2 separate regions of the Homo sapiens genome follow, and region 1 is linked to region 2. Evidence: promoter capture Hi-C in human tissues and cell types (Jung and others, 2019). All regions are on one chromosome and are shown on one strand. The core of a region is centred on a gene start or on the middle of the fragment in contact, and the rest is flanking DNA. Distances in the headings are between cores, read along the strand shown. Region 1 has its middle 8.1 kb from the start of LINC02014. Region 2 holds the start of TRH (thyrotropin releasing hormone).

Region 1 (4,022 bases), core at 867-3,366, 130 kb after region 2:
AATGTCTCCCAGATTCAAGTGATTCTCCTACCTCAGCCTCCCGAGTAGCTGGGATTATAGGCGTGCACCACCACGCCTGGCTAATTTTTGTGTTTTCAGTAGAGATGGGGTTTCACCGTGTTGGCCAGGCTGGTCTTGAACTTTTGACCTCAGGTGATCTGCTCACCTCAGCCTCCCAAAGCCTCAGCCTCTTACAGTGTTGGGATTACAGGCATGAGACACTGTGACCCGGGATGATTTTCAATCACGGTTTTTTGTTACGAGTGGAAAATGCATATTTATAAAAATGAAGTAGTACAGACATGAACGTGTAGCAATCTCTATAATCCTGCCATCCAAGGATGGCACCTGTTAACGTGCATATCAGGGATGTCCAATCTTTTGGCCTACCTGCGCTACATTGGAAGAAGAAGAATCGCCTTGGGCCACACATAAAATACACTAAAGCTAGCAATAGCTGATGAGCTAAAAGAAAAAAAAATCACAAAAAAACCTCATATTGTTTTAAGAAAGTTTACAGATTTGTGTTGGGCCACAGGTTGGACAAACCTGCTATATACATGTTCTAGGTTTTCCCCTATAGGTATACCTATGTGAAAATGATTATTTTGATACATTTTTTTTTGAGATGAAGTCTTGCTATGTTGCTCAAGGTGGCCACAAAGTCCTGGGCTTAAGCCATCCTCCCGCCTCAGCCTCCTGAGTAGTTGGAATATAGGTACTCATAACCACGTGTGGGTGATTATTATTAGTTTTTAAACAAAAATGGGGCTGGGCGCAGTAGCTCACGCCCGTATTCCTAACACTTTGGGAGGCTGAGGCAGCAGATCACTTGAGGTCAGGAGTTCAAGATCAGCCTGGCCAACATGGAGAAACCTCGAATCTACAAAAAATACAAAAATTAGCCAGGCGTGGTAGCACGCACCTGTAGTCCCAGCTACTCAGGAGGCTGAGATGGGAGGATAGCTTGAACCTGGGAGGTGGGAGGATGCAGTGGGCCGAGATGGCACCACTGCACTCCAGCCTGGGCAATACAAAGCCAGACTCTGTCTCAAAAAAAAAAAAAAAAAAAAAAAAAAAGGTTGGTGGGGGCTTATACTATATGTACTGCTTGGCACTGTTTTTTTTTCACTTAAAAGATATTGCAGGTTTTTTTTCACGTAAGTATCTGAAGAAAGACTTCCTTTTTTTTTTTTTTTTTTGCTTTTTTGCTTTTTTGAGACAGGGTCTTGCTTTGTTGCCCACGCTGGAGTGCAGTGGTGAGATCAGGGCTCACTGCAGCCTCCACCTCGTGGGCTCAAGCCATCCTCCCACCTCAGCTTCCCGAGTAGCTGGGACTACAGGCATGTCCAACCACATCTGGCTAGTTTCTGTATGTTTTGTGAAGATGGGGTCCCACTATGTGGCCCAGGTTGGTCTTGAACACCTGGGGTCAAGTAGTCCTCCTGCCTTAGCCTCCTAAAGTGCTGAGATGACAGGCCTGAGCCCCACGCCTGGCCAGCCTCCTGTGCGAGGTTGTGCGGGACTCTGTCATGGAACCCAGTATGTCTTCGCGTGCTGGCTTGTTTGTTGGCTCTGTAGTTAACGGGCTGCCCCACGTGGACAGGCACTGGGTCGTCCATGTCTCTGTGTGCAGGCAGAGGCTGCTGCGGGTGCATCTTTGCACATGGCTGCCAGGAGGGGCTGTGCTCAGGGGGAGCTGGGGCAGAGTCTGGTGGCAATGGGGGGCTTGGGTGTAGTGTGGAGGCACTAGAGCCAGGTGGCCGGGCTGCAGTCTGCGGGAGCTCGGGGGTCTCTTGGCCTCTGTGTGTCCTAGTGTTTTTGTCGGTGAGATGGGACAATGACAGAACACCCTCACAGGTGCTGGGGGCTGACCAATGTCAGGTCTCAGGACAGTGGCTGGCCCACTACGGGGCCAGTTGCCCTTCTCTATAGTCACCCTGCTCGTCTTCCATCAACTGGGTGCTCAGGACAGTGGCGTGGTGGATCCGCCTGTACAGCCTGTGCTCCAGCATCCTGCAGGCCACAGCTGTGTCCAGCCCTGACCCCGACTGCCCCTCCCACCACCTCCATTTTATAGATGAGGAAACCGAGGCCCAAGGGCTTAGGGAAACCTGCTCTGAGGCACATAGTAGGGCTGCTGGGCTCAGACCCTCCCGCCCTGTGCTGAGCTGCCCTCCTCCTGCCGCAAGCCCCCCACGCCCCAAGCCCACCCTGCTCACCGGCCTCTGCCCGAGTTCCCCGCATGGTGTGGGAGTGTGGGGCATCCTAGCTTTTTGCTGGCACCCAGTTCTTTCACTTCCACTGGAGTCCTGCAGGGACAGCTCGGGGACCATGCAGGCCCGGGTGGGCGTGGGGGCTCACCTAGCTCGGTGGTGAACACCTGGCACGTCTCTGGGTTGCGGACGGTAAAGGCCATGTAGACCTCAGGAGCCCGCTGGTGCTCCCAGCAGGCAGCCAGCCTCCGCAGGACCCCGACCAGGGACACGATGGCTTCTGGGCAATACAGCACGTCTACGGTGAAAGCTTCAGGTTACTGAAAGGGACAAGTGGAAAGTTCCAGTTCATGCTGACCTCAGCAGCAGGGTGAGGCCAGAGAGGCAGCGTTCATATGAGACTATTAGATGCCATTTGACCATTTGGGCCATTAGATGGAAGGGCAATTACTTGGGTGAAAAAGGAGAACCCTTAGTAGAGAAAGCTGCAAAAGACCGAAGCAAAAGAAAAAAATCTCCAGACTCACTGGTGTTCCTTAAAAAACCAGCTCTGGTTCTGGGCCTATCTAGAGGGCTTTGAATGGCAGAAAGCCTGACCCTACCGTGAACTTCGTGTTTCAGGTGTCTGCCGATTGGTCTGCTGGCTTGCAGGGGTGGGCCTCTGTCCCTGGCCACCGCTGGACCTGTGGGTTTCAGGGCTGGGACCCAGGACCACAGGCAGAGCTCTGTTCCACCAGAGAGGGGACTGAGTGTGCTGGCAGGGGTGAGGGGTTTTTGGTGGCCCAGCCAAACACCACCTTCTCCCAAGGGCCCTGTCCTCATCCCAGAAGTGGTTGTTTTCCTCCTGTGGTCTCTGAAGGACACAGGGCATGGCTCTGGAACAGAGCCGTGTGGTGACGACTGTAACGGGAGTATGCCTGTCTCCAACAAGAGGGCTGTGGCTTGAAGGTCACCTTAAGAGGCACCCCTGTCCTTTGATGTCCCCCTGGAGGCCCGGAGTAACTCTTCTGGAAGCCCCATCATGTCCATGCCCGACAGCATCCACTGTTCCCTTTTCCCAGAGCCAAGAGCTGGGTAGAGCTGCAAGGACACCGCCTGCACAGGATGCCCGGGGCTGGGCATTACCTGCTGTAATGACAACATCTGGCTGGAAGGCAGAGAGCTGATGGACCGTCGCTACATCCCAGTCCAGCTGGGCCACTGTCACCCTGGGGCTATCTAAGTTGGCAGTGATGTCTGCCTCTAATGAGAGGCCATTGAGAAGGACATTCCCTCGGAGCTGCTCGAGGACCCGGCTGTGACAGTCGCTGAAGATGTATGTCCGGGGGTGGCACATCTTGCAGATGGACAGGCCTGTAAGGCCGGCGCCACTGCCAAGCTCTAGGACAGTCCTGGCGGGAGGAAAGGGGACCGTGTCTTCGACTGCACCAGGGTAAGCCTGCCTCGGTGCCCTGCCCTGTGCCCCGAGGTCACCTGTTAGTGAAGGCTGCCAGGTTCTCAATGACCCATTCTGCAAGGTAGATGGCGGCTGCCCTGTGCCCCGAGGTCACCTGTTAGTGAAGGCTGCCAGGTTCTTGATGGCCCATTCTGCAAGGTAGCGGGCAGCGTCCCATGTGACCAGGCCTGTGGTACCGTGGGAGATGATGGCTGTGCTCGGAGAGTGTGACCGAGCCTTCCGAGGGCTGTACCAAGAGAGGGTGAGACAGTAAGTCCAGCAATCAGAAAACAAGTGGCTTAGAAGACAAGTAGCCATCCGCCACATGGCTGAATAAACCATGACAGGACCAATCGCCACTCAGCAATGAG
Region 2 (3,713 bases), core at 1,015-3,514:
CCAGGAGTTTGAGGCTGCAGTGAGCTAGTGATTGTGCTGCTGCACTCCAACCTGGGCAACAGTGCAAGACCCCATCTCCAAACAATAACAAAACAAAACAAAAAGAACATAAGAGCCTGGCAGCCCATCTTCCTCACACTCCACAAATGGCAGCATCATATACACATAGTTCTCTACTCTGCTTCTGGGAGCTTATTCCACATGAGTGCATATGGAACTGCCTTATTCTTTTAAAGGCTGCATAGTACCCCACAGTTTTAGATGGGTCTTAGTTGACTTAAGTGTCCCCCTCCTGATGGACAGACATCCAGGCTGGTTCCAATTCTGGCTTGTATAAACCATGCTGCACTGAATACCCTGAGGTATACATTCTCATGTATATAGGTGGGAGTATCTGTATTATGAATTCTGAAAAACAGAATTGTCTCATGGAAGGTACATATGTGTTAAATTTTCAGATTGCCACCCAAAAGATTGGATCAATTTATACCCTCGTCATTGTGTACAAAAGACAACAGGTCTATCTGATTTCATCTTAGCTAGGGTGGCATTTCTTCAAATCCTGGAGTCTAGTTGGGAGACCAAGCCTGAGGTTTCATGTTTGCAGTGTCTCCCTCACTGCCTCTGAACTTTTTGAGGGCTGGGGCTGAGCCTCATTCACTTCTAGGCCTTCAGGACCTACCAAGGAGTCTGACACCATAGTGGGTGCTTGTTAAATGTTTAGAGATGGGCCGGGTGTGGCGGCTCATGCCTGTAATCCCAGGACTTTGGGAGGCCAAGGAGGAGGATTGCTAGAGTCTAGGAGTTCGAGACCAGCCTGGGCAGCATAAGAAGACTCCATCTCTACAAGAAATAATAATAAAAAATAGCCATAAAAATTATGGTGCCTGGCTGTAGTCCCAGCTACTTCGGAGGCTGAGGTGGGAGGATCCCTTGAACTGGGGAGGTCAAGGCTACAGTGAGGTCAGATTGCACCACTGCACTCCAGCCTGGGTGACAGAATGAGACCCTGTTTTAAAAAAAAAGTTTCAAGATGGAGGCAGTCCCCAGGGCTAGATGTGGCAGTCCCACATCTGGGACTTTGGGAACTGACTCGGGGGGCAAGCTCCTTGGCACCCATGTGTTTCTCCTCCCTGCTTCCCCTCCCCTCCTTTGCTAGAGTTGGGTGAACTCCAATAGATTCCTGTGCAGGGGCTGCAGACTCGAATGTCCCTCCTCAGTGACAGGGGCAACACATTGGAAGACATTAGGGAGTGGTGGAGACTGTGGTGGCCGAGAGCAGCCAGGCTCAGCTCCACCTGGCTGTTGACAGGAGGAAATGGGGGCCCATTCTTTTTCAAGAGAAGCCATAAATCCAAAATTTTCTAAGTTATCTTGGTTTTAAAATGTTGGTTATTCAGATTTTTTTCAAAACACTGTGGAAGTCAATCAAAATTGTCCATGAACTGGTTGTAGCCTACAGGCCGCCACTTTTGGAATTCTGAAAGCTTTCCTCTGGCTCCTATTACACAGAGGAGAAAACTGAGGCCCAGAGAAACGGAGGCACTAGCCAGGAATGACACAGTTAAGATTAGCACCCTGGAGCCTGCGGGGTGGCTCACGCCTGTAATCCCAGAGACGCAGGAGTCTGAGGCAGGAGGATGACTTGAGCCCAGGAGTTCAAGGCTGCAGTGAGCCGTGATCGCGCCACCGCACTCCAGTCTGGGGGACAAAGCGAGATCCCATCTCTTTAAAAAAAAAAAAAAAAAAAGTAGAGCTCCGCTCCCACTTGCCCCCCATTCTCTCTCTCTCTCTCTTTCTCTCTCTCTCTCTCTTGCTCTACTCTCGCCCGTCTGCGTTCTACATTGGTTCTGCGGCCGTGTCCCTTTCGTGTGTGTCTGCCCTGTGTTTCTCCGTCGTCTCCGTGTGGATCTCGGTCTTTGTCTCGCCCTCTAGCTCTCTCGTGCGCCTGTGTTTAATCGTGCGCTTCTCTCAATCTCTCTGTCCCTCCCTTTGCCCCCTACACGCGTGTTCTCGTCAACAGATCTCCAGAGGTGGTGCAGAAACGACCCCGCGCCGGCGCCCCATCCTGCGGCCAGTGCCTCCGCGCCCCGGCTCCGGTCCCCACCGTCCCCGCCCCAGATTTCCGGAGGAGCAGGCGGGCGGGGTCCCGCGGGGCCGGCTGCCGTCAGCGCCCCTTCCCGGCGGCCGCGACCCCTCCCCGCTGACCTCACTCGAGCCGCCGCCTGGCGCAGATATAAGCGGCGGCCCATCTGAAGAGGGCTCGGCAGGCGCCCGGGGTCCTCAGCGCTGCAGACTCCTGACCTGCCGACTGCGGATCCCGAGTCCCCGGATCCCGGACCCATCCTGTGGAGCCCACTCCTGGCAGGTAACCGCCCCAACCCCTCTCCTTCCGCAGACGGTGTCCGGGAGCACTGGAAAGGGAGCCCTCTCGGCCCGCCCTCACCTTCGGTTCTCTGAGAGCTTCCTGGAGAACAGGGCCGGTGCACAGGCGGGCGCTGTGCTCGCACCCCCGGGTCCTCCCCGAGCGCAGGCCGGGGACCCGACGGGAGGCACGGCGCGGGCACATCGGAGGCTCTCGCTGCTGGGCACTCAGGTCGCCAGAGTCCGCAGCGCGGGGTGGGAGCTCCGCGGCACCCCCTGCCTGGGTGCCGCCGGACAGAGCTGGGTATTCAGGGCGTCGGCCTGAGAACCTGGGAGTTCGAATCCCAATCTCAACGCTAGAAATAGAATTTTAGCGTTGAAGTTAGGATTTTAGCGTTAGAATCAGATTCCTGGCTTAGTCATGAAAGCTTAGCATTAGAAATAGAATCTTAGCTTTGCAAATAGACTTTGAGCTTTAGAACCTGAATCTTAGCGATAGAAATGGGATCTTCGCGTTGGAATGAGGACGTCGGCCACGGAGCTTGGAGTTAGAACGTGGCGATGGGGACCTTTGGGGGAGTCTTGGCGGGGACGCAACCGTTAGCGTCGCGGCTGTGCCTGGCGCTGCAATCTCAATGGTTGCACTCCCGGCGAGGCAGTCCCAGCGTTGGCTTCCCCAGTTCCGCGTCACATTGAAGGGTGGCGGTGGCGCTGGCGATGGGGTTCCTACGGCCTCCTGCCTTGCGCAAGCAGAACTGGGCGCAGGCACTACAGGCACCCGTGGGGGCGAGGACGCCTAGAGGTGACAGGTGTGGACGCAGAGCCGGGGCGAACCCGCCGCTGCTCCCGCCCCTGCACGAGGGGCAGTGGTCCTGCTTCTGGGAGGGCGGTTGAACTGTGCGTGGTTTGTTTCTGGCGGGCGTCGGGGGAGATGGAGCGGGATGTGCTGTGATTCGGTGCGCTCAGGCTCCCTCTGTCCCCTAACCCAGACGCCGCGATGCCCGGCCCTTGGTTGCTGCTCGCTCTGGCTTTGACCCTGAACCTGACCGGTGTCCCCGGCGGCCGTGCTCAGCCAGAGGCGGCCCAGCAGGAGGCAGTGACGGCCGCGGAGCATCCGGGCCTGGATGACTTCCTGCGCCAGGTGGAGCGCCTCCTCTTCCTCCGGGAAAACATCCAGCGGCTGCAAGGGGACCAGGGTGAGCACTCCGGTGAGTGGATGGGGCTGTTGGGGGCTGTGGGGCTAGGCTATTGGGAGAGCCGTGGAAACCTGCCGGCAAAGGGGAGGGGAGGCTTGGTCAGCTAGCCTTCTGCCTTTCGGAAGCTCAGAAACCCTCCCTGGCTGCGCCTAG

The links. The method cuts DNA at HindIII sites, captures the fragments that hold promoters and counts their contacts. A contact is called where the count stands out against the background at its distance.
Region 1: a fragment that was not itself captured here is called in contact with the fragment with the promoter of TRH in region 2 in 2 of the 25 tissues and cell types used here (H1 embryonic stem cells and thymus).

What each region holds. Positions count from the first base shown.
Region 1 is chr3:130,100,400-130,104,421 of GRCh38, forward strand. It overlaps the pseudogene FAM86HP. Among named protein-coding and RNA genes, the nearest start is that of LINC02014, 8.1 kb to the left of the region's middle. The HindIII fragment of the contact is 7,534 bases long and covers 1-4,022 here.
Region 2 is chr3:129,972,456-129,976,168 of GRCh38, forward strand. TRH (thyrotropin releasing hormone) reads left to right here and starts at 2,265. Exons shown (of 3, transcript NM_007117.5): 1 at 2,265-2,368; 2 at 3,354-3,572. The coding sequence starts at 3,362. It also overlaps the pseudogene LOC124906284. The HindIII fragment of the contact is 6,189 bases long and covers 1-3,299 here.